Regions from separate parts of the Homo sapiens genome. Here all the other regions are linked to region 1. The links are contacts of gene promoters, found by promoter capture Hi-C in human tissues and cell types (Jung and others, 2019). All regions are on one chromosome and are shown on one strand. Each heading gives the region's core, a stretch centred on a gene start or on the middle of the fragment in contact. The rest is flanking DNA. Distances are from core to core; before and after follow the strand shown. Region 1 holds the start of HIP1R (huntingtin interacting protein 1 related). Region 2 overlaps SBNO1 (strawberry notch homolog 1). Region 3 holds the start of ZCCHC8 (zinc finger CCHC-type containing 8). Region 4 overlaps PITPNM2 (phosphatidylinositol transfer protein membrane associated 2). Region 5 overlaps MPHOSPH9 (M-phase phosphoprotein 9).

Evidence for each region. The method cuts DNA at HindIII sites, captures the fragments that hold promoters and counts their contacts. A contact is called where the count stands out against the background at its distance.
Region 2: a contact is called between a fragment that was not itself captured here and the fragment with the promoter of HIP1R in region 1, in 1 of the 25 tissues and cell types used here (dorsolateral prefrontal cortex).
Region 3: a contact is called between the fragment with the promoter of ZCCHC8 here and the fragment with the promoter of HIP1R in region 1, in 1 of the 25 tissues and cell types used here (dorsolateral prefrontal cortex).
Region 4: a contact is called between a fragment that was not itself captured here and the fragment with the promoter of HIP1R in region 1, in 1 of the 25 tissues and cell types used here (heart left ventricle).
Region 5: a fragment that was not itself captured here is called in contact with the fragment with the promoter of HIP1R in region 1 in 1 of the 25 tissues and cell types used here (spleen).

The regions. Positions count from the first base shown.
Region 1 is chr12:122,833,392-122,838,882 of GRCh38, reverse strand. HIP1R (huntingtin interacting protein 1 related) reads right to left here and starts at 3,426. Exons shown (of 32, transcript NM_003959.3): 1 at 3,240-3,426. The coding sequence starts at 3,332. It overlaps LOC124903040 (a long non-coding RNA gene), which reads left to right and starts at 3,650. Exons shown (of 2, transcript XR_007063501.1): 1 at 3,650-3,709; 2 at 4,045-4,328. RefSeq lists silencers at 2,915-3,114, 3,285-3,524 and an enhancer at 3,775-3,824. The HindIII fragment of the contact is 9,768 bases long and covers 1-5,491 here.
Region 2 is chr12:123,291,910-123,297,587 of GRCh38, reverse strand. It overlaps SBNO1 (strawberry notch homolog 1), which reads left to right. Exons shown (of 32, transcript NM_001167856.3): 32 at 1,538-5,678. The coding sequence ends at 1,680. Among named protein-coding and RNA genes, the nearest start is that of CDK2AP1, 23 kb to the right of the region's middle. The HindIII fragment of the contact is 4,586 bases long and covers 1,381-5,678 here.
Region 3 is chr12:122,497,275-122,502,404 of GRCh38, reverse strand. ZCCHC8 (zinc finger CCHC-type containing 8) reads left to right here and starts at 1,473. Exons shown (of 14, transcript NM_017612.5): 1 at 1,473-1,763; 2 at 3,536-3,578. The coding sequence starts at 1,565. RefSeq lists enhancers at 428-1,119, 1,055-1,234, 1,285-1,344, 1,545-1,624, 1,120-1,813 and 1 more and a silencer at 1,765-1,914. The HindIII fragment of the contact is 12,081 bases long and covers 1-5,130 here.
Region 4 is chr12:123,106,950-123,112,521 of GRCh38, reverse strand. PITPNM2 (phosphatidylinositol transfer protein membrane associated 2) reads left to right here. Exons shown (of 26, transcript NM_020845.3): 2 at 2,034-2,137. Among named protein-coding and RNA genes, the nearest start is that of PITPNM2-AS1, 28 kb to the right of the region's middle. RefSeq lists enhancers at 4,599-5,339, 5,178-5,387. The HindIII fragment of the contact is 5,617 bases long and covers 1-5,367 here.
Region 5 is chr12:123,183,664-123,189,049 of GRCh38, reverse strand. All of the region lies in intron 13 of MPHOSPH9 (M-phase phosphoprotein 9), which reads left to right. Among named protein-coding and RNA genes, the nearest start is that of PITPNM2, 35 kb to the right of the region's middle. The HindIII fragment of the contact is 5,791 bases long and covers 381-5,386 here.

The DNA of each region.
Region 1 (5,491 bases), core at 2,177-4,676:
CTGTGGAGGATGCCCATACTCCTTGGCTAGTGGCTCCTCCCCAGCAGCAGGCAGTGAGTCTTTCTCACATGGACTCAGTCCGACCTCCTCTCCTGCCTCCCTTGTCCACATTTAAAGACCTTTGTGATTACACTGAGCCCACCTGGTAGCCCAGGAGAATCGCCCCATCTCAAGGACCATCTCAGCTGATGAAAAACTCTAATTCCACCTGCAACGCCTTACTAAGTCATTAACGTAGTCACAGGTTCTAGCTGCCACACGGTCTCTCTCTTACACCTTACAACAGCCCTATACGATAGCTGGAACGATCTGTATGGTTTTTTTTTCAGACAAGGACATAGATTTACAAGTTAAGCAACTTGCCAGGGACACAGGCTAGAGCCTAGGTCTATCTACCTACTAGTGCCTTTATGATACCACACCCTCTTTTTAAATGGTACAGGCAGTGTTCAGGTTCCAAATACAGGCATGCTGTATTTTGTAGTATTCTGTATTCAGAAAACAGCAACAAGACAATAAAAGTTTGTCACCTCCATTTTGAAAAGGATTTTTTTTTTTTTTAACCAAAGGGACTAAAGTCATAGGGAAGAAAAGCATACACTGGTTTTCTGGACATTCCCCTGGGATTATACACACACACCATGCAACAATCACAGGCACCAGCTCCCAGCAGGCACATGATCGCCTCTCTTCACACTCCTGAGCGCTAACCCCACAGATATTTGCAAACAGGGTGTGTCCTGTCAAAAAAGCTCACAGGAAAGCAATTATCTTCCTCCTGACCCAGGAGCCCAGGGGAGGAAAGCGAGGCTGGCAGGCTAGTGAATATTTAAATTCTAAGCCAGCCTAGTGCTCCTGCCACAGCACACAGTGCTGTGGTCAATGCAAGACAAGCAGCGTATTACAAAGGAAGCCAGGTCCCTGGACTGCATGTGCTATTTTCTGTCCCGAAGGAGACATGGAAGTAACAACCTCAGCTCTCCAGGTCCTTTTCCACCACGGGACCTGGCTGGCGGCTCACCTGATTATTTCTGGGAACGATCTAATTAAATATTAACCACGTACAAAACCTCATTCTTACATTCCTCAATAAGTCACTGTGAAGACGAGCAAACCCAGACAATGAACTCAAACTCCAACTTTCCAGAAAATGGGGCCCTAGAATAGGTAAGACCTGTGACATTCACCCATTACAAAGTTATTCATTGTTAGTGGCCCTCTTAGCCTCTGAGAAAAAACCAGAGCAAAACAAAACAAAACAATCCACCTTCGGAGAGGTGCCTGTAATCCCAACATCTCGGGAGGCCGAGGTGAGGCGGGTGGATCGCCTGAGGTCAGGAGTTCGAGACCAGCCTGTCCAACATGGTGAAACACCTTCTCTACTGCAAACACAAAAATTAGCCAGGTGTGGTGGCGCACGCTTGTAGTCCCAGCCACTTGGGAGGCTGAGGCAGGAGAATCACTTGAACCCGGGAGGCGGAGGTTGCAGCGAGCTGAGATCATGCCATTGCACTCCAGCCTGGGCAACGAGAGAGACTCTGTCTTTAAAAAAAAAAAAAAAAAATCCACCTTCTTGTGTATCAAACCAACCACTAAAATGTGTGGTCCTGTATCAGAGATTCTCTCTTTGACACTCAGGAAGGTTGCCCTTGACTTCTTATCATTTAAGAGTAAGATCAATGAAGTTGGTCCTTCACATCCCATCTCCTCCATGTAGCAATCAGACCTCTTTATACGTCCTCAAAGGCACGAGAAAAAACTCAGTGAATAAACAAAGTTTCTGACAACATCCAGATATGTCTGCCAATTCAGGTTTTCTCCCTATGATCTACAAGTTCTTGGCACAATTAATTATGTATTGGTGACTTTAAATTTTTTTAAAATGACGGGCTATCCGGGCTGAACCAGTTGATGGTGATGAAGATCACAAGGCTAAATTGGTAATTTGCAGCCACCTGGGTTCCAGCACTTCGCATTTCTAAAGCCTTGATATCCTCAGGATTTATTATCGCTTTCTGGGTCAATCCCAAGCACAAAGGTTAGAAGGTCTCCCTGCGTTCTCTCTCATTTCAAAACGAAAGCTGTTGTAGAGTGCGTGTGCTAACTAGATGTGAAGGCAACCGCAGAAGTCATAGCTCTCTGCAAGGACAAGTGGGACGGAACTTGCAAATAGCCGCCACAAACGCAAATGTCACCAACCTGCTTTAGACAGGAGTGGGAGGGGTCCTCTGGCTTCCTTTATCTCTAGAGTAAAATTTTTCAGCCATTTCAGTCTTGGTTGACTTATTTTGGCAAATAAACAAGTATGCCCCCCTCCACCGCCCATCCCCCAAGCCTGAGAGCACTTCAAGAGTTTGTAAAATAAAAAGCAACAGGAAACCAGAAACGCAGCAACGTCTGCATCGTGGGTCCCCGGCACAAACACAAGTACAAAACGCACACCCGCGCCCTTATTTCATTTCTAACGCCTTCCCAGGATAGGCATCATCTGGAAGAGTTACAAGCGTGGGAGGCGCAGGAAGGGAGCCCCAGGAAGTTTCTGTCTGTCGGGCGCCGGTATTTAATGAGGGGGTGTGCACCTATTTATACGTGGGCAGCGCTCGGGCAAACAAGTCTGGCGACATACGAGAAGCTTTTCACCCAGCAAATAATAGGAGACTGTGCAGCCCTGGGAAACCGCTCACGAGAGAAGGAAGCTGGGAGTTTAAGGAATTTCCTTTAAGGAAATTGCCCGTGGGGGCATCGGTTTCAGGGGGTAGGAGACGGGGGCAGGAGCCGGCAAGGAGCGGCACGGAAGGTCGGGGACCCCAGTCGGGCCGCGCCGGCCCCGGGAGCACCTGGATCCCCAGCCCCCTCGACCCCCGGCGCGCTGGGCTCGCGCACACCCAACCCCGGCCCCATCTCCGTCCCCCGCCGCCTCAGCTCCGGCGCTCCCGGCCCGCGCACACCCTGACCCCGGCCCCCTCAGCCCCGGCGCCTCTGGGCCCGAGCGCCCGGCGGGAGCGGGGAGCGCGGCTTCCGGTTCACCTGCGCGCCGGTCGGCTCGGGCCGCGGAGGCCGGCGGGGGGCGGCAGCGGAGCTCTCGGAGAGCCCGGGCGGACACAGGCCCTGCCCCCGCGCCGTCCCCCGCCCCTGGCCGGCGCCTCCCGGGCCCCAGCCGTTCGCGCGTGAGGGGTCAGGGACGCCGCTTGCCCGCCCGCCCGCCGCCGCCCGCCGCCCGCCGCCCGCCGCCCGCTCGCCTGGGTCTTGTCGAACTGCTCGCGCTCGGCCTCCAGGCTGTGGCCCGGCCTGCGGCTCAGCACCCGCGCCGGCACGTTCTTGATGCTGTTCATCCTGCCGCCGCCGCCCGCTTTTGTCCGGCTCCGTCCGCGCGACTCACAGCCTCACGGTCCGGCAGCCCCAGCCTAGGCACCGCGAGGCCACCGCGCCGCGCCCGGGCCCGCCCGCCGGGGAGGAGCCCGCCTCGCCCCGCCCCCAACTCCAGGGCACGCCCCTCCCCCGCACACCTCCAAACCCGCCCCCCGCGCCCGCAAACGCCTCGCCCGCCCCCAACTCCAGGGCGCGCCCCTCCACCCGCACACCTCCAACCCCACCCCCCGCGATCTCGGGACACGCGCCTCTCCCCGCACATCCCCAACCCCCCATCCCGCGGCGACCCCGGCACACGCCCCGCCCCCCGCACACCTCCAACCCCCACCTCACTCACAAGGTTGGGGCACAGGCCAAACGCCCCCCCAGCTCCTCCCCACCTCTAATCCCCTCCCTAAACCCGGAGGGGAGGGTAGGGGAAGGGGGAGGGGGAACCCCTCCCTCCTCCTTCCACCCAGGGTAGGGACCCCAGCCAATTCCCTCTCCCCACCCCTCCTCCGAACTCACTAAGTCTTGTCTGCACCAGGGCAAGATCTGGTTAATTGGAGAAAATCTGGCCTCCATGAGTCTGGTCGGTGGCAGCACAGATAGACGCTTTTTTTCCTTTTTGGTCTTAATGTATGTGTCAAAAGGCACACAATGACACTCTCCCCTCTTTGTGCAATTCTGACATAGCTGCAGCTGTTATCCATGCGGGGATGCAGGATGCATTTCCAGAGACGCCGCCGGCTCCGCAACCGGACACCTCGCCAGCTCCAGGGACAATGGGGGCTGAGGCCGGGCGCTGTTAGGCTGGCACAGAAGGCAGGCGGATCTGAACAGCAAAGTACACCGAGGAGATGCCGCCAGGGGTGGCGTGAGGCTTTTTAAAAACATTATTATTGGCTTTCCCTTAAAATTACTGGTCACAAGACTGAAGTAAAAAAATAAATAAAAGCCCAGAGTCCTCTCTAAGCGTAGCTCTCAGATGGGTATTGTGTTTCTGCTGTTTCCCTTTCCTATCGGAATGCAGATGTGGAATCATGCATAAAGGTCCCTTGCTTTTGAAGGGAGAGGCACCGCCTGCCTGTAAGGAGGAAAATGACGCCCACGTAATCCTGACCCTTGTCTCCCTAGTGAGACTGTAACCTGTCTGAGGTCAGAGACCCTTTCCTTTCCTTTCCTTTCCTTTCCTTTCCCTTTCCCTTTCCTTTCCTTCCTCCTTCTTTTCTTTCTTTTCTCTCTTTCTCTCTCTTCTTTCTTTCTCTTTCTTTCTTTCTTTTCTTTTCTTCTCTTTCTTTCTTTTCTTTTTTTTTAACCGAGCTTCACTCTTGTTGCCTAGGCTGGAGTGCAATGGCACAATCTCACCTCACCGCAACCTCCGCCTCCTGGGTTCAAGCAATTCTCCTGCCTCAGCCTCCCAAATAGCTGGAATTACAGGCATGTGCCACCACGCCTGGCTAATTTTGTATTTTTAGTAGAGACAGAGTTTCTCCGTGTTGGTCAGGCTGGTCTCGAACTCCCGACCTCAGGTGATCCGCCCGCCTCGGCCTCCCAAAGTGTTGGGATTACAGGCGTGAGCCACCACACCCCGCCAGGGACCCTTTTCTTTAACTGATTCCTCACCCTCCAGCCCAAGAGCTAGAGCTGACCCCAAAAGATAACATTTGCCAAGACTCTCCTGTCACTGCACCAAAAGGAGAAATTAATCCTGTTTTCTCTAATTCCAATCACTAAAAAGCTTCTTTATCAGAATAACGGTAGAATCACAATAGCTGATATGTACTGAATGCTTATTATTTGGCAGGCACTGGGCTAAACCCTTCATATGTAACTTAGTCAACTTAGTTGATAGCTGTGCTCTAATAAAGACCACAGTAAAGGGGCTTTTTGCGGTACTCCAGCTGTTTCTCACACTCCTTTTTCCACACGGAACAAAAGTGGTTCTCCTGTGACCCTTCACGCATATACAGCATCCCTTTTCAACCAGGCAACAGCCCCTGTAGGTCTAGCACATCTGCCACAGAGACTTCCCATTAGCAACTGGCTTTTTAAATAATCACAGAGCCTATTACTGTGCCGGGCACCAGGCTCAGCATCTGTTAAACAGTATCTCACTTATTCTTCTTTAAAGTTGTTGATG
Region 2 (5,678 bases), core at 2,424-4,923, 460 kb before region 1:
AAGGGTAGACTAGGCCAGCTATTCTCACCGTGTGCTCAACTACAGGTGTCCAGGAAGCAGGGCAGCAACTGGACTCTGTTTGCTTATCTTGGTTTCGCTTACAGCAGCCTTCCTCTACCACGGATTGCATATCGGGAGTTCATGGGCCAAAGTCAGTCTATGGAATTTTTTTTTTTTTTTTTTTTTTGGACACCAGTATTTTGGGATGTTGTAGGTTTTCATTTGAATTAATGAATTTTTTTTTTTTTTTTTTTTTTTGAGACTGAGTCTCACTGTGTCGCCCAGGCTGGAGTGCAGTGGCGTGCTCCCGGCTCACTGCAACCTCCGCCTCCCGAGTAGCTGGGATTACAGGCATGCACCACCACACCTGGCTAATTTTTATATTTTTTTAGTGGAGATGGGTTTTCACCATGTTGGCCAGGCTAGTCTCAAACTCCTGACCTCAAGTGATCCGCCCACCTCAGCTTCCCAAAGTGCTGGGATTATAGGCGTGAGCCACCGAGCCCAGCCTCATTTGAATTAATTGCCAACATTTAAAAATCAAGAGGTTTCATATAAAAGTCTAGATTTCCAGTTTCAAAAGCAGCCCATCAGCTGGGCATGGTAGTTCACCTTGTAATCCCAGCATTTTGGGAGGCTGAGGCAGGAGGATTGCTGGAGTCCAGGAGTTTGAGACCAGCCTAGGCAACACAGTGAGACCTTGTCTCTATTTAAAAAAAAAACAAATAGGGCCGGGCACGGTGGCTCACACCTATAATCCCAGCACTTTGGGAGGCCGAGGCAGGTGGATCATGAAGTCAAGAGATCGAGATCATCCTGGCCAACATCGTGAAACCCTGTCTCTACTAAAAATACAAAAATTAACCAGGCGTGGTGGCAGGTGCCTGTAGTCTCAGCTACTTGGGAGGCTGAGGCAGGAGAATCACTTCAACCCGGGAGGCGGAGGTTGCAATGAGCCAAGATTGTGCCACTGCACTCCAGCCTGGCGACAGAGCAATACTCCATCTCAGAAAAAAAAAACAAAAAAAAAAACACATATATATATGCATGCAATTTATCTGGAACATTGAGCCTTCAATCCTACATGCAGGACTTAAAGTTCCCTTAACCAGCACCCAGAGAGTATCCTTTCCAGTTTGCTAGTATCTGCTCTTCTAAGTTAACCTGTTTCGGTTAGCATTTGAATTTGCAACTTCTGTTCTGTAGTCTTTTGGTGCATTAAAAGATAATACATAGAATAATAGATATTCTTAACCTCCTGTTAAAAAGAGAATAATAGATATTCTTGACTTCCTATTCCTCCAACAAGATAGCATTACACTAAACACATGCATATGCTTGGGTATTTGTGGGAAATGCTGTGGAAGAATCAGACTACATCTCAATGGCCATTTCATTTATTAGGTAGTCGTTTAATTTTTGTGTGAACTTCTTGTCCATTACGCTTAATATTATGCCTCATTTGGAATCTGCTGTGAAGCTGTACAGTGTGGTTTCTTCTGGACACAACTTGATAAATTCTTGTTACTAATTACAGGTTTGATCATTCCGGCAAATTGTGTGTCTCCTCTTGTAAATCTCCTATCAACTTCAGACCAGTCTCAACAGCTTGCGGTCCAACAGAAACAGCTATGGCAACAGCATCACCCTCAGAGCATCACCAACTTGAGCAACGCATGAAGAACAGACAGGTTTCAACATGGATGGATCTGAAATGCTGTTGAAGCATATCATTTGCATAAAAATCAGGGACAGTTTCCAAAGAATTATATATTTTTTTCAGTTGTGCTCTCTAGTTAGTTTTTTTGGGAGTAAGGACAAACCTGGAATAGATAGCAAAACTGAAAATCAGCAGTGCTGATGGTGGTACATATGTCTTTCCTTTAGCTTCTCCCCTGATAATTCCCATCTGCTTTTACTTCGGGTGAGCAGAGGGGGATGTGTGTGTGCGTGTGTGTCAGTCTGTTTGTGAGTGTGTTAAAGGCTACAGACCACAGTTGGTTTAAAATGCTTGGAACTTCCCAAACTGGCTTTACTTTATGTTTATACAGTGCTCAGGGTTAACGCAGTACATCCATGCCATTGCTGTGGGAGGTATCCCCGGATGCATGTGTTTTGAGTCTATAAATATAGAAAATATATATTGGTTTCTTTTTCCAACTTAATAGGTTTATTAAAGCATGAAATGAAAGGTTGCATATCATGCATTCAGGTTATTTTCTAATTTTTGTTCTGACAGTGCATGTCTTTGGAAGCATGCTGAAACAAGATTAACACAGGAGTCGAGTAACAGAGAGAAACATTTGTTAGATGTACAGCATTGGTTATTGCATTTTTATAGTGTTTATACCTGGGTATTGCTTCAAACCCTGCAGACCCCTCCTTCCCCTTCTCCCTGCCCTGGGTTTCTGGTCAAGGTAATGAATACATACATTTTTCTGTGATAAAACTCTTAAAAGTTAATTTTAATGTATTAATAGTATTCCTAATGTGTGCTGCAGAAATGGCTATGAGCCTCTTAAATTTACATTTGCAACTTAAAGGTAGTTTTAGAAGGAAGTACAAATTGGCTTTCATCTTGCAAACAATCGTTTTTTACTTCATTATCTTAATTTGCTTTGTCACTCATAAAAAGGAAACCATACCTGAGTTGTAGACAATGAGGAAACACTTGAGGCTTCTGCTGTGTGTTCTTTTGTTATTGTTGTTATTGTTGTTACTCAGTAACTTGAATATTGTTTAATGTGTTGTAAGACGTAGAGTTTATCTCAAGCTGTTAAAAATGGTAATGTACAAATGTGAATAGACACTTATCTATATAATATGGGTAAGTTTTGTTTCGCCTATAATAGATGTTTATAAAAACAAGTGAGGGGACAGTTGGTCTTTTTATCTTTTCTTTCTTTTTCTTTCTTTTCTTTTTTTCTTTTTTTTTTTTTTTTTTTTTTTTTTTGCTTCCACAGGTTGCACTATTGAAAAATCGAGATTGTATAAACCTGGTAAAAAGCTGCAAGATGCCAAAATCTTGTAGATGTCAAATAAAAAGTTATTATACTAACAAGAAGTGGACTCTTGTTTAGGCCCTCACTGGTGACCTTCAGAAGTAGTCTGTGACGGGGACTCAGCAGAATTTGTGTGTTGTCTCAGCATTCCAGGTAGCCTTATAGTTTGGCTTAAAACTTATCCCTAAAATGTAAGATGGCATTGAGGGAAAGGGTATAATGATAGTACTTCTGAATGTTTTTTAAGTTGAATTGTTTGTAAACTTCTTGCAGAATTGGGTGAGATGTGTGTTAAAACTGACAAACCTGGCTGAAAGCTTAGGGCGTTCATCCTCTTGTGTCTCCTTTAGCCTGAGTTTGGTTATGTCAAGCTTACCGTAAGTTTTCTTAGGATTTATTTATTCTTGGTGCCTAAAAGAATAAATTGAAAGTACTTTCTGTTCTTTGGCACATTTTGCCCAGCGGATGCAACTTCTATCCTCAGTCCAGTTCATATATCTCAGGCAGTGATCCATTTTGTATCAGCCAGTTTCCCTTGTTAGGGCCGCTAGACCCGGCTGGCAGCCAAGAGCAGCACTCTCCCCACCTTCAGCAGAACTTCTCAGCTCATGTGTGTGTTTTTAAAAGCAGTAGGCAGCTTCCATCAGCAATGGAAGTGTCCCCCACTCCAGTGGTGGAGGTGCAGTCGCTGGACCTGAGGAAGTGGGGAAGCATTACAAACCCTCCTGCAGTAAGAATGGCAGAGTTGGGAAGGATCTTCTCTCGCAGGCTGTTGGCCCAACTCCTCTTTTCTGTGTATGAGGGCATCTTAGTTTTTTATGGCGTTTTCAAAGCAGCATATGAGGATTCTTAGCATGCAGCTAAGTGACAACCCCCATGGCCTATGATGTAATGTTTGCTCTGGACTAGCCATCTTGATAAATAGGAGTGTATGTATCTTAGGTTCTTTGTAGAACAGCTATTTTTTTTTCTCATTAAAAAGGCCTCTGAAAGCCCTCTCAAAATGGACCTCACAAAGGCAACCAGTGTGAATGGATGGGAGCTGGGGTGCTGCATGCCCAGGCTGGTCATGGTGTGTGCAGCACCCAGAGAGTTGCACCCACCCCTTCTTCAGGTGGACATCCGACCTTTACACTGTGGTCTTGCAAAAATCAGCGAGTTAGTTTGGCCGCCCTGTGAAGCTTCAGCATTCAAGGTCCTCTTCTGTTAAAACCCAACTCGTAGCCGGGCGTGGTGGCTCACTCCTATAATCCCAGCACTTCGGGAGGCCAAGGCAGGTGCATCACTTGAGGCCAGGAGTTCGAGACCAGCCTGGTCCACATGGCAAAACCCCATCTGTACCAAAAAATACAAAAAATTTGCCGCTGACTTCTGTAAAATAGGTCCATTCATTGCAGGATCTAAATGCCACACCTGAATTCAGAGGCCTTGTTTAATTAACCCCATGTCCACTTTGCCTCTGCAATGCCTTTTTCTTTTTAGCAATATGGCTCTGAGCACAAAGATTTGGTTGGAAATCATGTTCGTGTTTTCAGAGTTTACAGCGTCAATTGTACTGAAAACCACTTCCAGAGTCTAAAGCAGCTCAGATGTTATCTCTGGGGGAATTAGTGTTCCCCTCATTTAGCAACCTCCATACCACAAGGTCTCTGTCTGTAGTTACTGGGATTATCCAGATACACTATCAATGATACAAATTCATAGGAGTATTAATGCATTTCTTTAAACACAACTTGATTAAGAAGCAAATATGTTAAGCAGTTTTCTTTTTCTGCTGCTAAATTACAGTTAGACACTTCAGTATCTTCTCTTTACATGTGTATATAAATTAGTAAGAACCTGCATCCAAAGCAATGTAGTGTGTGTATGTATCTATATATATTTATTCTAACTCAGCACTTCAGAAGCCTTTTTGAGTTACAACAATATTTTAGTTTGCCTCATCTGTAGAGGTAAAATTTCTATATTACCAAGCTCCAGAGGAATATGATATTTTACAGGCACAATTTTCTGGCTGTAGTCCCTGGGGCATTCATTTGCTGGCCTCCATGGGATGCTGTTAGAACAATTGTTAGCCGGCAAGAGAAGAAAGGCTACCAGGACAGCATTTATAATTGTAGAATGGGAGCCTTCTTCCCTCTCCCCTCCACTTTCATTTTAGCATGAGATAAAAAAATAGATTGGAAATGATTGTTGCATCTCACTTCATGGAAGTAGGGGCAGAAGTTCCCTCTGGATCCTTTTCTTGACAAGCAGTCAAGAGGAAGGTCCCCATACACATGTACCTGTGTGATACTTGGTAGTTTCTAAGAATGGTGCTACATAAGCGTTGCTGTTAGGCTGGGATCCTATTAATGAACGTTTGATTAGTTCAGGCCTCCCAATGGCAAAGGCAGACACCGTGGAGATGGACATTTACTGACTCCCCTTCTGTGTGGCTTCGGTCTCCCTGGCTAACACCACACCTGTGCGTACTGCGCTCGGCCCACTTTGCTGCAGAAACGTAGCAAGCGTTTCATGTCAGGGCTACAGCTGAGAGCAAAAACTGCAAAAAAAAAAAAAAATGTCTCATTGAATGCCAGTTGTCTGATACAAATGCAGTGTCTTTTAAGTGACAGAAACACACCTAAATACCTGCAACTCAAGCTCGCTAGCATTTTTTTTTTGAGTACTTGA
Region 3 (5,130 bases), core at 224-2,723, 330 kb after region 1:
ACATGGTGGTCCTTACACCTAAGACACTCTTCCATCCTCCCACCCCCAACTTTGCCGATCCTTAAAGTCTCACTTCCTCACTTTACTGACTCCCACAGACTAGGGTGTTTGTTAAATATTCATAACTTCCTGTGTTTTTCACCTTTTTTTTTTTTTTTTTTTTTTTGAGACAGAGTCTTGCTCTGTCGCCCAAGCTGGAGTGCAGTGGCACGATTTCGGCTCACTGCAACCTCTGCCTCCCGGGTTCAAGCGATTCTCCTTCCTCAACCTCCTGAGTAGCTGGGATTACAGGCGTGTGCCACTACGCCTGGCTAATTTTTGTATTTTTAGTAGAGACAGGGTTTCTCCATGTTGGTCATGCTCGTCTTGAATTTCTGACCTCGTGATCCACCTGCCTCGGCCTCCCAAAGTGCTGGGGTTGCAGATGTGAGCCACCGCCCCCGGCCCACATTTCTTTGTGTGATCAATATCCATCAACAACCATCTCGACCCAAGAACAGGAACATTTATAATTATGGGGTTTTTGTTGCTTTTTGTGGACTACAGCCTTCGTGAGAGGAGGAATTACTCTATTGTGGTTACTCTTGTAACCATACTCAGGTCCTAGACAAGTGCCTGGCCCATCGAAGGTGTAAGTAAATAATGTGATTGAATGACAGAAAGCCTCAACAGACAAATAGTTGAGTCTAGCTAATCTTACATTAAAAACGAAGCAAGCTCAATAAACTAATCTACAACAGTCATCTCTGTAGCAAAGCTGGAGTTTCTTATTCTCTTTTATGTTTATTTTTATTCAGTTCCCTTTCAGGCTATGGAGTTCCTTATTCTCTGGTGTGGCACGCACACCAGAATCTGTGAGAAGCTATGCGTCGTGCTCTGATTTTTCACCCTTAGTTGCCTAACAGGAACATCCCATACTGGTTTTTGTTTTTCTTTTTCTTTTTGAGACAGGGTCTTGCTTTGTCTCCCAGGCTGGTGTGCAGTGGCGCCATCTGGGCTCAATGCAGCCTCGACCTCTTGGGCTCAAACCCTCCCGCCTCAGCTTGCCGAGTACTTGGGACTACAATCGCCCAGCTAATTTTTATATTTTTTTGTAGTGTCTGGGTCTCGCTCTGTTGCCCAGGGTGGTCTCCAACTCCTGGGCTCACGTGATCCTCCCACCTCTGCCTCCCGAGTAGTTGGTATTACAGGTGTGAGCCACCCCGCCCTGCCCCCAGATTGCTTTAGCGCATTCTGACCTACTCCAGCTTTCTTCACATTTCAAAAAGCACCAATCCCAGGATGCAATGCAGACAATGAGTACCAGTCGCTTAGAAACCACACGTCCCAGCATGCCGTCCTCCGGGCAATCGCAAGCCCGATAGGCCCCGCTGCATTCCGGGAGTTGTAGTCTCTAGCGACTGGCCCCGCCCCGTGTGCAGCTTTCGCGGCCTGCGTCTGGAGAAAACCCTAGCGGGTGGCTCCGTGCGGCCAGAGCTCTAGAGAGTGGTGCCGCCTTCCAACCTTCTTCCCCAAGCCCTGGTGGCCGGCTCCGCCTCTTCTCGAATCTTTTCCACAGCCCAAAATGGCCGCAGAGGTGTATTTTGGCGATCTAGAGCTCTTCGAGCCGTTCGACCACCCAGAGGAGTCGATTCCGAAGCCCGTTCACACTCGCTTCAAGGACGACGACGGCGACGAGGAGGACGAAAATGGGGTCGGCGACGCGGAGCTACGGGAGCGGCTTCGGCAGTGCGAGGAGACCATCGAGCAGCTCCGCGCCGAGAATATCCTTTCCTCTCGCTGGGCCCTGTCACCCGGGTGTGGGGCCGGGGCAGCGCCAGGCGTGGGGCCGGGGCAGCGCCGGGCGAGGGCGAGGGCGCGGGCGGAAGTTCCAGGAGGGCCAGAATTCCAAGTGCTTTCTGTCACCCGCCGGCGGACCGAGAGTCTAGGGTTCGGGGCGCGCAGGCTGCCTCGGCGCAGACCTCTTCCCCTCAGGGAGGCCGTCTCCTGACCAGACCCACTCCTGCCTCCCACCCGGGTGCCGTGTTTAGGGTTATTTTAGGCTGCTCACCTGACAGATTGTACACAAGCCCTTAATTGCCCCCCTCTGTTTGAGGTCGTGGTGAGGTTTCATATTTCGCAGCCACGCTCAAATTGTGCCGTCATGTTACAGTTGTAGGTGATGAAATACCGGCTGCTTAGACGCGGGATCGGTTTTTATACCGGGGCAAACGCTAGTGGTCCCAGAATGCAGAGTTGGGGGCCTCAAGGAATCCGGGTGTGCTGAGATAATTGGTTAATTGCTTGATTAAAATTGGGGATTAATTTTAGAGTTCTTCCACTCGGAGCTCGCTTCTGTGCTGAAGATGCTTTGCAACGCCTTGAGGAAAACGCGCCAAAGAAGTTTCTGTTAGACTTGAGTTACAAGATTGCAGATTTTTCTTGATTTGCTAGTATGTTTTTTTTTACGTTCGTAGAGTTTTATAGGTAGATAGATAACTTTGGTTCGGGTAGTTTTCCTTTTAAAATTTGTAGAGAACTGAAAGTGGCTGATATGTTAGCTTTTTTAGGGGGACGGGGTCGGGGAATGGAGTCTCAGTCTGTTGCCCAGGCTGGAGTGCAGTGGCGCGATCTCGGCTCACTGCAACCTCCGCCTCCCGGGTTCAAGCGATTCTCCTGCCTCAGCCTCCCGAATAGCTGGGATTACAGGCGCCCGCCACGGCGCCCAGTCAGTATATCAGTTTTTAAGGTTTGTGAAGCGCGATTTATTTTTTCAGAATGTCGTCTTCCTCCACATTGTGAGGAAAATTTTCAGAATACAAAAAGTTGAGGCCGGGCGCTGTGGCTCAAGCCTGTAATCCCAGCACTTTGGGAGGCCGAGGCGGGTGGATCATGAGGTCAGGAGGATCATGAGGATCAGGTGGATCATGAGGATCAGGAGGTCAGCCTGGCCAACATGGTGAAACCCCGTCTCTACTAAAAATACAAAATTAGCCGGGCGTGGTGGCGCGTGCTTGTAATCCCAGCTACTCAGGAGGCTGAGGCAGGAGAATCCCTTGAACCTGGGAGGCGGAGGTTGCAGTGAGCCAAGATCACACCATTGCACTCCAGCCTGGGCGACAGGGTGAGACTGTGTCTCAAAAAAAAAAAAAAAAAGTTGAAAGGATTCTACAGTGGACATCCATAGATTTATTCCAAATTCTAAAGTTGTTAACAGCTCGTTATACTGCATTCTCTTTATCACATAGTGGTTGTTGAAAGGTTTGACAGGAACACTGATGCTTCAATAATGGTTTTGGTTCAGTTTGTTAGTCTGTTGAACTTCAGGATCGTGTCTTAGAATATATGTTCGAAAGGATAAAAACCGTACTTTAATTTTGGGTTTCAAAAGCCTACCCCTGCAACAAAATAGAAGCTCAATAAGTGTGTCATCCTCAAAATATCCGTGGGTCTTTTGTCTTTATAATATTCTGACACCAAAAGTGAGAGAAGTAGTAGTTGAATTTTATGATTTGCATTGTTAAATGAGGGCTTATCTTCCTTAACAAATAATAACATCAAGAACTTAAACGAAAATTGAACATTCTGACTCGACCGAGGTATGAGATTTTTGAAATTACTCCATAGTTGTCCCTTATTATTTATCCTGATATTAATATTTAATCAGAATTTCGTTGTAAAAAGTGTATGGGATTTTTGTATCATTTTTATTTGTTTAGCATACTCTGAAGAAATCAAAGTAATAGTTATTTAATTGTGGGGATAAGGTCTGAATTCTCATAAGTGGATTAAAATTGTAAGCTCATTTATTGGATGAAAGGATGAAACAAAATCCAGAAAATGTTTACTTAATGTTCAGAATAGGCAAGTTGTTAACCTAGCTATTCCTATTTAACAAACATTTCTAGAAAGTTAGAATTAAGATTACAATATTGGCTGGGTCTGGTGGCTCATGCCTGTAATTCCAGCACCTAAAAAAAAAAATTATAGTATAATGGGCCAGGGGCAGTGGCTCACGCCTGTAATCCCAGCACTTTGGGAGGCCGAGGTGGGCGGATCAACTGAGGTCAGTTCGAGAGCAGCCTGGGCAACGTGGTGAAACGCTGTCTCTACTAAAATTACAAAAATAAGCTGGACGTGGTGGGCGCCTGTAATCCCAGCTACTTGGGAGGCTAAGGCAGGAAAATCCCTTGAACCCGGGAGGTAGAGGTTGCAGTGAGCTGAGAGTGACAAGAGCGAAACTCCGTCTGAAAAAAAAAAAAAAAAAGATTACAGTATTACTCTAGCTGAAGATTTATTTACATAGTTAAAATGTGTTCATAAATAGAACAATGAAAGAATCAGCATTTTAGAAGAAAAAGTAATGTGCTTTTGAAAAAGATAAAGTGTGTAGATTTGCATTTAGGCATCTGATTTTATGTTTTTGTTTTTGTTTGAGACAAGATCTCACTCTGTCACTCAGGCTGGTGTACAGTGTTGCAATTATAGCTCACTGAAACCTTGATCCTCCCGCCTCAGCCTCCCAAATAGCTGGGACTACAGGCAGACACCACCACACCCAGCTACTTTTTTTTTTTCTGATAGAGTCAGGGTCTTGCTGTGTTACTCAAGCTGGTCTCAAACTCCTGGCCTGAAGTGATCCTTCTGCCTAGGCCTCCCAAAGTGCTGGAATTACAGGGATGAGCCACCATGCCCAGCCTAGGCACCTAACTTTAACAGAGATATTACTGGTATCTCAAAATATATATTTATTTAACAGGTCACTAATCTAAAGTATTTGTTAAAGTACAGATTATGAGAAATTATATTTTCAAGCTTTCAGAATTTGGAGGTGCCATGATGTAATTTCACATGCACTTTTTTATTATATTTTTTAATTTTTTTGAGACAGAGTGTTACTCTGTTTCCCAGGCTAGACTGCAGTGGTACTATCTCAGCTCACTGCAACCTTCACCTCCCGGGTTCAAGCAATTCTCCTGCCTCAGCCTCCCGAATAGCTGGGATTACAGGTGCCCACTACCACACTCGGCTAATTTTTATATATTTAGTAGAGATGGGGCTTCACCATGTTGGCCAGGCTGGTCTCGAACTCCTGGCCTCGAGTGATCTGTCCACCTCAACCTCCCAAAGTGCTGGAATTAACAGGCATGA
Region 4 (5,572 bases), core at 1,310-3,809, 270 kb before region 1:
ATTTAAAACTTAAAGGAATGAAATGACATTTGTTCCTGGGAAACAGCAACACGATGTATTATTTGGTCTTGGATGCCCTGCTCCCCTCCAGGACTGTGACTACGTGTGTATGGAACGTACATTACATGCAACAAACCCCAGCAAGGAATTGTGTTTTATTGTGACTTTCCATGTCCCCTTAGGGCAGTGGACAGATTCACTGTTTACCATTTATGTGAGGGGTCACTGGAGGAAAACTGAGTTAGCCAGCAGCACATTTTAATTTCTTTCCAGGGATGTTTTGAGCCCCCTGCCCCTAGAGGTCTGTTCCCCAAGTAGCTGCCTACTGGGTTGGCTCCTTAGCCTGACCCTGCATTCACTTTTTTCACTTTTAATACTTTTAGTCAGAAACATAATTCCCTGCAGTGCCTCTCTTTGCGTTCTGAGAGTGCTTTTTTCTCATAGCCCCTGTGGATCTAATTCTGTGGGGTGTGAGTCACCACTGCCCTTCTCACCCGCCGAGAAGCATTGTGGTGGGCTGGAGCGGGGCTGGTCTACCAAATCTGGCTCGCCATTGATGGGTGCGTTACCATGGCAAACCCTCAACCCTCTCAACAGCTTTCCTCACCTCGAACATGGGGAGACTTCAGAGTTGCTGGCCTCAACTGTGGCCTACGGTGGCATGTAGAGGCAAGGCTGGAAGGCCAGCTTGCTCATGGTCACTGGGAGGGCTGGGACCTGCATCCACTCTGCTGTGGGTGCCTGGGCTGTTTCATCTGTTCCGGGGGTTGAGTGTGTATGTGGGTGTGTACATGCAGCCGTGGAGACAAGGGGCTGGGGCAGGACAGCGATGGAGCCTCAGTCCCACAGAGGAGCCTGCACGGGGGTGGGCATGCAGGACGCGGTGGCGGTGGCGGGGTTGGAAGAGCCGCCCGCTCCCTGCAGCCACACCTCCCACTGCTGTGTATTGCTAGCTATCTTCACACCTCCCCAATTCCACTCTCCCTCCTCTGTCTGGCCGTTCACTTGGCAGTTGATAACTTTGCCATCCCCAGCCACCATTCCATTTCCCTTTGTTAGGGCTGTGCTTGCCCCTAGCGGGCATGGACTGGTGTCTGAGGAGACCCCCACCATGCCTGTCCTCAGCTCCTAAAGCAGGGTTGCCCTGGAATTGGGCATCAGTTCCTGAAACACTCCCAGCTTCCATAGCCAGCAGATAAGCAGCCTCTCTGTCATGGTCATTGGAGAGCCCTGTAGGCTGCTACCTGCTCTCTGGGCCCAGGGTCAGGAGGCTTGTATGTGTGTCAGGCAAACAAGAATGTGTGTTGAGCTGCGAGGTGGGCTACCCGGCTTGTCTGTGGTCCCTGTAGGAGCCCTGGGTTGGGTAGTGGCTTCAGTGGTACCTGTGAAGACTTTGTCATCTCTGAGGCTGTTGGACCTGCGACTCTTTGGAAATCCATTTCTCCACCTTTTTCATTTTGTTTTGAATGCTTGTCTCTGGCCTCTGGGTAGTCAGATCACACTCTGCCCAGCTGGAGGGGCTTGCTGGAAGGCTGGAAGCCATTTGCATCACCCCACAATATGACCATGCCCCTGTCCCGGCATCAGGACGCCATCCTCTCGGACTGTGTCTCCCACTCTTCTTCCTGCATTACCTCATTTTCCAGCCTCCTCTCTGCGGTCTGAAGTCCTCCAATCCCAGTGGGGTTCATGAGTGAAAAATCAAGGTTTGAGACAGAGCTCCAGGGGCCTTTGAAAATAGGATGGCTTATGGTGTGTGCTGGTGGTCTCAGTTCCCACTCCCTGAGCAGTTTTCCTAAGTAGAAGGGGTGCCGGGCAATGTTGGGGTGTATCTGTCACCAATTCTGAGTTAGACACTTGCTTCCTGAATCGTCCTGGGCTGGGTCCCTTTGTAAAATGGAGACACCTTTAGTCAGATGTCCCCTGTTCAATCCTCTTGGTCCATCGGCATTGTGGGTCTCCCAGTTGGATTGGTGTGGAGTGATCAGAGTCCAGGTGTCTCACCTCCTCTCCCATTGTGCTTCTCCCTGCAGGATGCTGGCACGTGTGTCCTGGTCCTCAACAACCTTCTGTGAGCCTAGGGACCCATTTCTCCTCCTTTGACAGGGACATCAGTGGAGCCTTCTCAGACCCACAGGTAAGGCCGTCCACCTGTGCAGTAGCACCCTACTTCCCAGAGCTGAGGCCCTGCAGGCCACCCTGGCCTTTGGAGTTTGAGGGTACGGAGACTTTATTGCTGTTTCCCTTTTCCCCTAAAAACCGGACTATTGTTGGGCGCAGTGGCTCACACCTGTAATCCCAGCACTTTGGGAGGCTAAGGCAGGAGGATCACTGGAGGCCAGGATTTCAAGACAGCCTCGGCAACATAGTGAGACTGCATATCTCTGAAAAAAAAAATTAACTGGGTGAGGTGCCACATGCCTATAGTCCCAGCTACTGGGGAGGCTGATGTAGGACGATCACTTGAGCCCAGGAGTTCGAGGCTGCAGTAAGCCATGGTCGCACTACTTCACTCCAGCCTGAGTAACACAGTGAGACCCCGTCTCTTAAAAAGACACTATAAACCTGACTTTATCTGATTAATGTGGGGTAGATTGTATTTATTGATTACGCTTTTGCAAATATTGACTTCTTTTCACTAAATACGAAAGACCGATGTTCTGCCTCTGGTAGCTTTCGATTCCAAATAGGATAAAAACTGCTTGGGTCAGCCTTTGAGGCCCCAACGGCTGCTATTCTCCTGTTTATAGAGCACCCCAGAGTGGCTCTTTTCTGTTTGCTCTTGAGGCTTAGCCTGGCCTGCTCTACCCTTAGTACATGGAAGAGGACAGGCAGGAGTTATGCTTCTTCTGTGCCTTGGCTGGGAAGCTCAGGCTCTGGCTACTCGCTGGCTTTGGCAGAGAGCAGAGGCTGGGCTGCTGCCTTGCTCAGCTGCCCGCAAGTCATGGTCAGTGGCCCAGAAACAAGCATGAGTGTGGTTTTTAATGCACCATCCCTCTGGATGTACAGTGAGAAGCCAAGGCTGAGTGGAGGGTGGGCCTGAGCCTCTGTCTTGAGTCTCAGGGAGTGCCAGGTCTAGAGATTGAATGGCCCAGGGAGTAGCAGTCTCTCCCCTCCCACCCCCAGCTGGCAGCAGGAGCCCCTGGCCTCCCAAGCTTCTTTCCATTTCGTATTTCTTTGTCTCAGGCACAATCCCTGGCCTTGGCCCCATTTTCCATGCCAAGGCCTTTGTTGGGTGGAACAGGAGGTAAAGTGATTTTTCCTTCTTTTTTTCCTAAATGTTGATGAACCCTTCTCCTGTTCACTCATTGGCTAGTTTCAGCTTTGGAGGCACGGAGGATGGATGTTCCATCAAGGGAAGCTAGCAAAGCTGAGGTGAGGATGCTGGTGGGGGTAGGTTTAATGTACCCAGCCCCTGCTGCATGGGGCTAAGTCCCACAGTAACCATGAGCAGTGCCTGTTAGGGTCCCTTTTTACACAGGAAGCCGAGGCTCAGAGATGGCAGATATCAGCTCCAGGTTGCACAGCTAGTCAGTGGTGGGATTGGGATTGGACCCCGAGTCTAGACCTGGAAGCACATGGCATGGTTTTTCAAATTTGGCCTGTGACTCACAGGGCCCTTGGTTCAGCCCAGGCTCAACTGTTACTTGCTGTCTGATCTCGGGTAAGTCCCTTCCCTTCTCCGGGTGCCCTCATCCTTGCTGGGAAGATAGGGCACGTTGTGATGGGGCCTCTTAAGTTGCCTCTGTGGCTCCGTAGTTCCAGGCTGGCACCGTGGACTGTTATCTTCTCTAATTGCTCATTCTTTTCAGTTGCTGTGAAAAGGCCTCCAAGTGCTAAGAAGAGAGAGTGCTATGTTGTATTTTTTGTTTTTCTGTTTTGTTTTAATTCACTTTCCAAGGTGTCCCAGCTACTGGGAGTGGATGTAGGGGAGGGCACATAGTAACACTCAGCCCTGACTTGCAGCTTCTCCAGGGGTCACTCGGGTTCTGCGGGGTTGGGGCCTCGTGGTTGTCCTGTTGCCAAAGGTCTTGGCTGCCAAGTCGAGGCAGGGCCCGGTGAGAGCTCTTCTGCCCTGCATGGCCTGAGCACTGACATTGCTCTGAGGGACGCTGCTTCAACACAGCCTTGGTCTCCTGTCTCCTTTCTTACAGGAAGGAGGTTCTATTCCTTCTTAACAACTGCATTCCAGAGTGCAGTGGCTTTGCAGAGACCATGGCCTTGCAGCTCACCTCATCCGAAGGTCTTCACTTAGACCTAAAATGTCTTCAGGAATTGTTCTGCTCCACTCATTTGTCCATAAAGTATTTATTGTTACTTAGTTTGCACCAGGGACCATTCCAGTTGCCAGAGACGCCACTGTGAACAAAACAGACAGGCATCCCTGCCCGCGTCTAGTTTATATGCTGGTACATTCTCTGCGCTTTGCTTATGCAGTTCCAGCATCCTGAAATTCCCTCTTCCCACCTCTACCTGTCAGGTTCCTGTTTCACCTTCCAAGCCCATTTCAAACAGCTCCTTTCCTCTAAATTTCTTTGCAAGGCCTGGGTCCGCATTAGCCTCTCCTTCCTCCCTCTGTGCTGTCACGGCATACTGCTTGGACCTCAGAATTCTTGGCATCATTTTCCCTGAAATATTTCAGTAAGTGTCTGTGTCTGCTGTTGACCTGGGAACCTTGTAATGTGGGAGACTTGCCTTTGGGTGCCATCCTTTCCCCCCAGATCCTGGACTAGAGAGCTGGTACCACCTGCTTTTCCCAAAACCCTCCCCTAGAAAATGGCAGGCCCCATGTGAGGATGATTAGGGTTGCCCCCTCCATGCCTCTGCACCCTGCTTGGGAGTTTGTGGCATAGTGACCACCGGGCCCTGGTAGCGAGAGTCATGGGGTGGAGGGAGGCCACACTCCCTGGGGTTCGCTAAGAACGAGATCTTTCCTTCTCCTCTCTCCTCCACAAGGGACTGAGGAAGGAAAGGGCTCAAGGACCAGGGTTTATTTTTAGAAAAGCTCCTTGCTGTGGAGGAATCCAGAGCCCTTCCTTCCAGAAGGTGGGGGTGGCAGGTGGTGGGTGGGGTAGCTGGGGTTGTGTCTCCTACTGCCTGGCTGTCTTTCACAGTAGGGGTCTGCCTTAAAGAGGAGGGTCCCAGCCAAGGAGAATATTTGCCCTTAGCCCTCACAGTTGAAGATGTTTGCCATTCGGCATTGGTGAGCAGAGCTTCTGGCATTGCCATGAGCTTCAGTGTCCCTTGGGCAAGAGCTCAGCGGGGAGGGTCCTGGGCCCAGGCAGTGGCTTCCTTCCGGACTCCCCGTGGCTCAGGCAGGGAGGGGCACTTCCTGCCATTGTCTCTGTGACAGGCCTCAAAAGGTCACTGTCTCCTGAGGAGAAAGAGAGCTCATGACATGGGCAGGGCCTCAGACCACAGCAGCAATGACACAGACTTTCCAGGGCACGTCCCCACCTCCCCATGCTGTACCCCCATCCCCACCTCCAGCCCCTTGGATGAAGTCCCATCCCAGGTGAAGAAGGGACTTATCTCCATCCGTAGCAGCAGCAGAGCCCTACCTGCAGCGAGG
Region 5 (5,386 bases), core at 2,027-4,526, 350 kb before region 1:
CATTCTATTTTTTTGAGACAGAGTCTTGCTCTGTCATTCAAGCTGGAGTGTAGTGGCATGATTATAGCTTACTGGAGCCTTGAAGTTCTGGGCTCAAGTGATCTTCCTGCCTCAGCCCTCTGAGTAGCTAGGACTATAGGCATACGCCACCACACCTGGCTAATTATTTATTTTTATGTTTACTCTTTATTTTATTTTTTTGAGAAGGAGTTTTGCTTTTGTTGCCCAGGCAGGAGTGCAGTGGCGCTATCTCGGCTCACTGCAACCTCTGCCTCCCAGGTTCAAGCGATTCCCCTGCCTTAGCCTACCATGTAGCTGGGAGTACAGGTGTGCACCACCATGCCTGGCTAATTTTTTGTATTTTAGTAGAGATGGGTTTTCACAGTTTTTGCCAGGGTGGTCTCGATCTCCTGACCTCAGGTGATCCGCCCACCTCAGCCTCCCAAAGTGCTGGGATTACAGGCGTGAGCCACCGTGCCTGGCCTCTATTCTATTTTTTAAACAATTCCAAAGTCCTGCATAGGTTCAAGGGGAGGGAAAATGGATACCATCTCTTAATGGAACACAGCAAGGTTCTGCAAGAGCTTATGGGTCTGGAAATATTGCTGTGGCTGTTACTGGGAAATATAGCCTGTTATAATAGTCTCTTTCTCTGAATGCAGTGGTTGGGACATAGAATATGAGCTTTGTTATCTTTTTTAGATATTGCTAAATTGCTCTCTGAAATGGTTGTACCAGTTTATTTTCCTGCCAGTAGTGTATGATAATTCTTATTTTTCTAGATTATTTCCAGTGCTTGGTATTGTCAAGCCTTTTAATTTTTCAAGTGTGATTAAGAGGAAATGGTTATACGTATTGCATCCATCTTCTTTTGGTATTTTTATGGGATACAAGTTTTGGGTGTTTTTTGTTTGTTTGTTTTTGAGATGGAGTCTTGCTCTTGTTGTACAGGCTGGAGTGCAATGGCGCAATCTTGGTTCACTGCAACCTCTGCCTCCCGGCTTCAAGCAATCTCTTGCCTCAACCTCCTGAATAGCTGGGATTACAGGCACCCACCACCATGCCTCACTAATTCTTTTTGTATTTTTACTAGAGACAGTTTCACCATGTTGGCCAGGCTGGTCTTGAACTCCTGAACTCAGGTGATTCACCCGCCTCAGTCTACCAAAGTGTTGGGATTACAGGTGCGAGCCACGGCGCCCAGCCCAGAATTACCTCTTACGTAATATATGGTATGAGTAGGAATTGAACTTGATCCTCCCTGCCTCCAATGATTAACCAGTTGTCCCAGAATCATTTTTAAATAGATTTTCCTTCCCTTACTGACTTCTGTTGTACATTTTATTTCCTTCTCGTGTAAATCTCCTTTGAGGCTCTGAGCTGTTCCATTGGTCTGTCTCTGAATTGGAACCACATCATGTAAATTATTAGTATTTTATAACAAGTGTTGATTTTTGGTGCCATTTCCTTATCTCGTTTTTTTGCTCTTGTAAAAATTATTTTGCCTATTTCTTGGCTTTGTTTTGTTTCATACAAATATTACTGTCAGCATGCCACTCTGCTTTCGATTGGAATTGCACTGAATTTACAGATTTATTTGGAGACAGCTGAGACTTGAAATATTGATTCTTCCCATACATGAACGTGGTTTAAATCTCAAGTATTTTTCTTTTTTAAAAATTAAGGCCTTTTACATCCTTTGTTCATTTTTTTCTCGAGGTATATCATATTCTAGTATTTATGTATTTCTAAATAATGTACTGATATTGTTCGTTCGTTCTTTTTTTTTGAGACAGAGTTTCGCTTTTATTGCCCAAGCTGGAGTGCAATGGCGCAATCTTGGCTACTGCGGCCTCTGCCTCCTGGGTTCAAGTGATTCTCCTACCTCAGCCTACCAAGTAGCTGGGATTATAGGCGAGCACCACAACACCCGGCTAGTTTTTTGTATTTTTGGTAGAAACAGGGTTTCACCATGTTAGCCATGGCTGGTCTCGGACTCCTGACCTCAGGTGATCTGCCCGCCTCAGCCTCCCAAGGTGCTGGGATTACAGGCGAGAGCCACTGCGCCTGGCCTCTTTCTTTCCTTTTTGAGATGGAATCTTGTTCTGTCGCCCAGGCTGGAGTGCAGTGGCATGATCTTGGCTCACTGCAACCTCCACTTCCTGGGTTCAAACAATTCTCTTGCCTCAGCCTCCTGAGTAGCTGGGGTTACAGGCGCGTGCCACCATGCCTAGCTAATTTTTGCATTTTTAGTAGAGATGAGATTTCACCATATTGGCCAGGCTGACCTCGAAATCCTGACCTCAAGTGATCCACTTGCCTCAGCCTCATGAAAGGCTGGGATTACAGGAATGAGCCCCTGTGGCTGGCTCGATATTGTTATTTCTTAAATTTTACATATTATCTATAATTGTGGTGGGTGAAGATCTAGGTCCTAGCTGAAGATGAAGATCTAGATCCTAACTGTGATTCTGGGTGTATGTTTTCTTCAGATTTGAAGGCTTTGTTTTATTGCCTATGACATGATCAATTCTTTTCCTTTCTCTCCCCTCCCATGGCTTTCAAAGTTTCAAGCCTGCAGAAAAATTGTAAGAATGATACAATGAAAACCCTTGTATATTCTTTACCTAGATTTACCAGTTGTGAGTATCTTACAGCATTGCTTTGTCTTCATAGAGATATAAACTTTTTTCTTTTGCTGAACTATATTTGAGAGTAAATTAGACACTATGATAATTTACCCTTAAATACCTCAATAGGTATCTCTGAAGAACAGAGATATTCTCCTGTGTAATCTCTTTTTTTTTTTTTTTTTTTTTTTTGAGACGGAGTTTTGCTCTTATTGCCCAGGCTGGAGTGCAATGGCACGATCTCAGCTCACCACAACCTCCGCCTCCCGGGTTCAAGCAATGCTCCCGCCTCAGCCTCCCAAGTAGCTGAGATTACAGGCGCACACCACCCCATGCCCAGCTAATTTTTGTATTTTTAGTAGAAACGGGGTTTCACCATGTTGGTCAGGCTGGTCTCGAACTCCTGACCTCGTGATCCACCCGCCTCGGCCTCCCAAAGTGCTAAGGATTACAGGCTTGAGCCACCATGCCCGGCCTCTCCTGTGTAATCTCAATGTACTTTTCATCCTCAGGAAATTTAACATTGATATAATACTAATATGTAAATACATTCTGTCTATATTCAAATGTTGCCAGTTGTCTAAATAATATCCTTTATAGATGTATTGTTTTTTGCTTTTTAATCCAGAATCCAATCAAGGATCACACATTGCATTTATTGTTATCATTTCTTTGAGACAGGATCTCACTCTGTCACCCAGGCTGGAGTACAGTAGGCATATTCATAGCTCACTGCAGCCTCAACCTCCAGGGCTCAAGTGATCCTCTTACCTCAGCCTCTCCGACTGCTGAGACTACAGACACTACAGGCTATCACACCTGGCTAATTTTATTTTTTTGTAGAGATGCGGTCTCACTATGTTGCTCTTGCTGGTCTCCAACTCCTGAGCTCAAGCGATACTCCCACACTGGCCTCCCAAAGTGCTGGGATTACAGGCATGAGCCAATGTGCCTGGCCCACATTGCATTTAGTAATCATGTTTCTCATTCCTTTCTAATGTGGTTCTTTTTTTCTCTTTCTGGAAGTTTTTTAGGATCATCTTTTTATCCTTGGTATGCCGAAATTTTGTAACAATATTTTTTTTTTTTTTAGTTTCTAACAACTCTTTTTCTGATTGATCATTTTTAATAGCTTTCTATTCCTGTTTTGAATCTAATGTTGTTATTTCTTTGAGAATATTATGGCTTCCATTGGACTGTTTCTGTAGTTTTCATTATTCTGAGTTAAGCTTTTGTTTTCATTTGAAGTATCTTTCATATTTAATGTCTTTTTCCAAGTGTTGGTTCTTTTGCAGGCTCACATTTAAGAGGCACTAGGCTGGGTGTGGTGGCTCACGCCTATAATCTCAGTGCTTTGGGAGGCTGAGACGGGTGGATCACTTGAGGCCAGGAATTTGAGACCAGCCTGGCCAACATGGTGAAACCCTGTCTCTACTAAAACTACAAAAATTAGCTGGGTGTGATGGTGCACATCTATAATCCCAGCTACTCGGGAGGCAGAAGCATGAGAATTGCTTGAACCCAAGAAGTGGAGATTGCAGTGAGTTGAGATCACACCACTGCACACCAGCCTGGGTGACAGAGTGAGACTCTGTCTCAAAAGATAAAAATTAAATTAAATAGGCCGGGCACGGTGGCTCATGCCTGTAATCCCAGCACTTTGGGAGGCCGAGGCGGGTAGATCACAAGGTCAGGAGATGGAGACCGTCCTTGCTAACATGGTGAAACCCCGTCTCTACTAAAAATACAAAAAAATTAGCTGGGCGTGGTAGCGGATGCCTGTAGTCCCAGCTACTCAGGGGACTGAGGCAGGAGAATGGCGTGAACCCGGGAGGCGGAGCTTGCAGTGAGTAGAGATCACGCTACTGCACTCCAGCCTGGGCGACAGAGCAAGACTCCATCTCAAGAAAAAAAAAAAAAATTAAATTAAAGCGAAGCAGTATAAAAAGCTATTGAAAGACTCTTAAGTGTATGGATGGGACTTAGTTCCTGGTAGCCTTCATTTTCAGGCGATTGTAGAGTCATGCACCAGCCATTTTGTTAGGGGACCTCCAGATGTGAATGTTTAGAAGGTTTTTTTTCTGGGGTTGTTCAGTTTTCGTAAAGACAGGTCTTACAGTCTCTTGCCTGGGACCTATCAGTCAGATTCTGGCAGTGGAGGAGGGGGAGGTCACCTTTTTTCAAAAGAAAATTATTTGTTAATATATTTATTTTAGAGACAGGTCTCACCTTGTCACCGAGACTGGAGTGCAGTGGTGTGATCATAGCTCACTGCATCTTCAAACCCCTGGGCTCGAGGAATCTTCCTGCCTCAGCCTCCCCAGTAGCTGGGACTACAGGCACATGCCACCAGACCTGGCTAATTTTTAAATTTTTTGTAGAGATGGGGTCTTGCTATATTGCGCAGGCTGGTCTCCAACTCCTGGGCTCAAGTAATCTTCCTCGGCCTCTCAAAGTGCTATGATTATAGGTGTGACCTGCCCTGGGTGTTTTTGAAGTCTTTTACTTTGTCATTTTCTCTTTATCCTCTGCCTCCCACTCCACTATTATCCTTGGATTTCCAAAGTTCCATTTTTCTCCCCATTCATTTTCTCCTGCTGTCCTGCCACCTGGCTGAACAGTCTACTGCTGTATGGGATGTGTCCTGGGCTCTGATTACTTAAGGAATTTCAACCAGTTTTCTGTGGTCAGCCCTGTGCCTCAACCCTGTCCATCTCTAAACCTGGGTTTCAAGGTGGGCATCTCTCACAGTTATG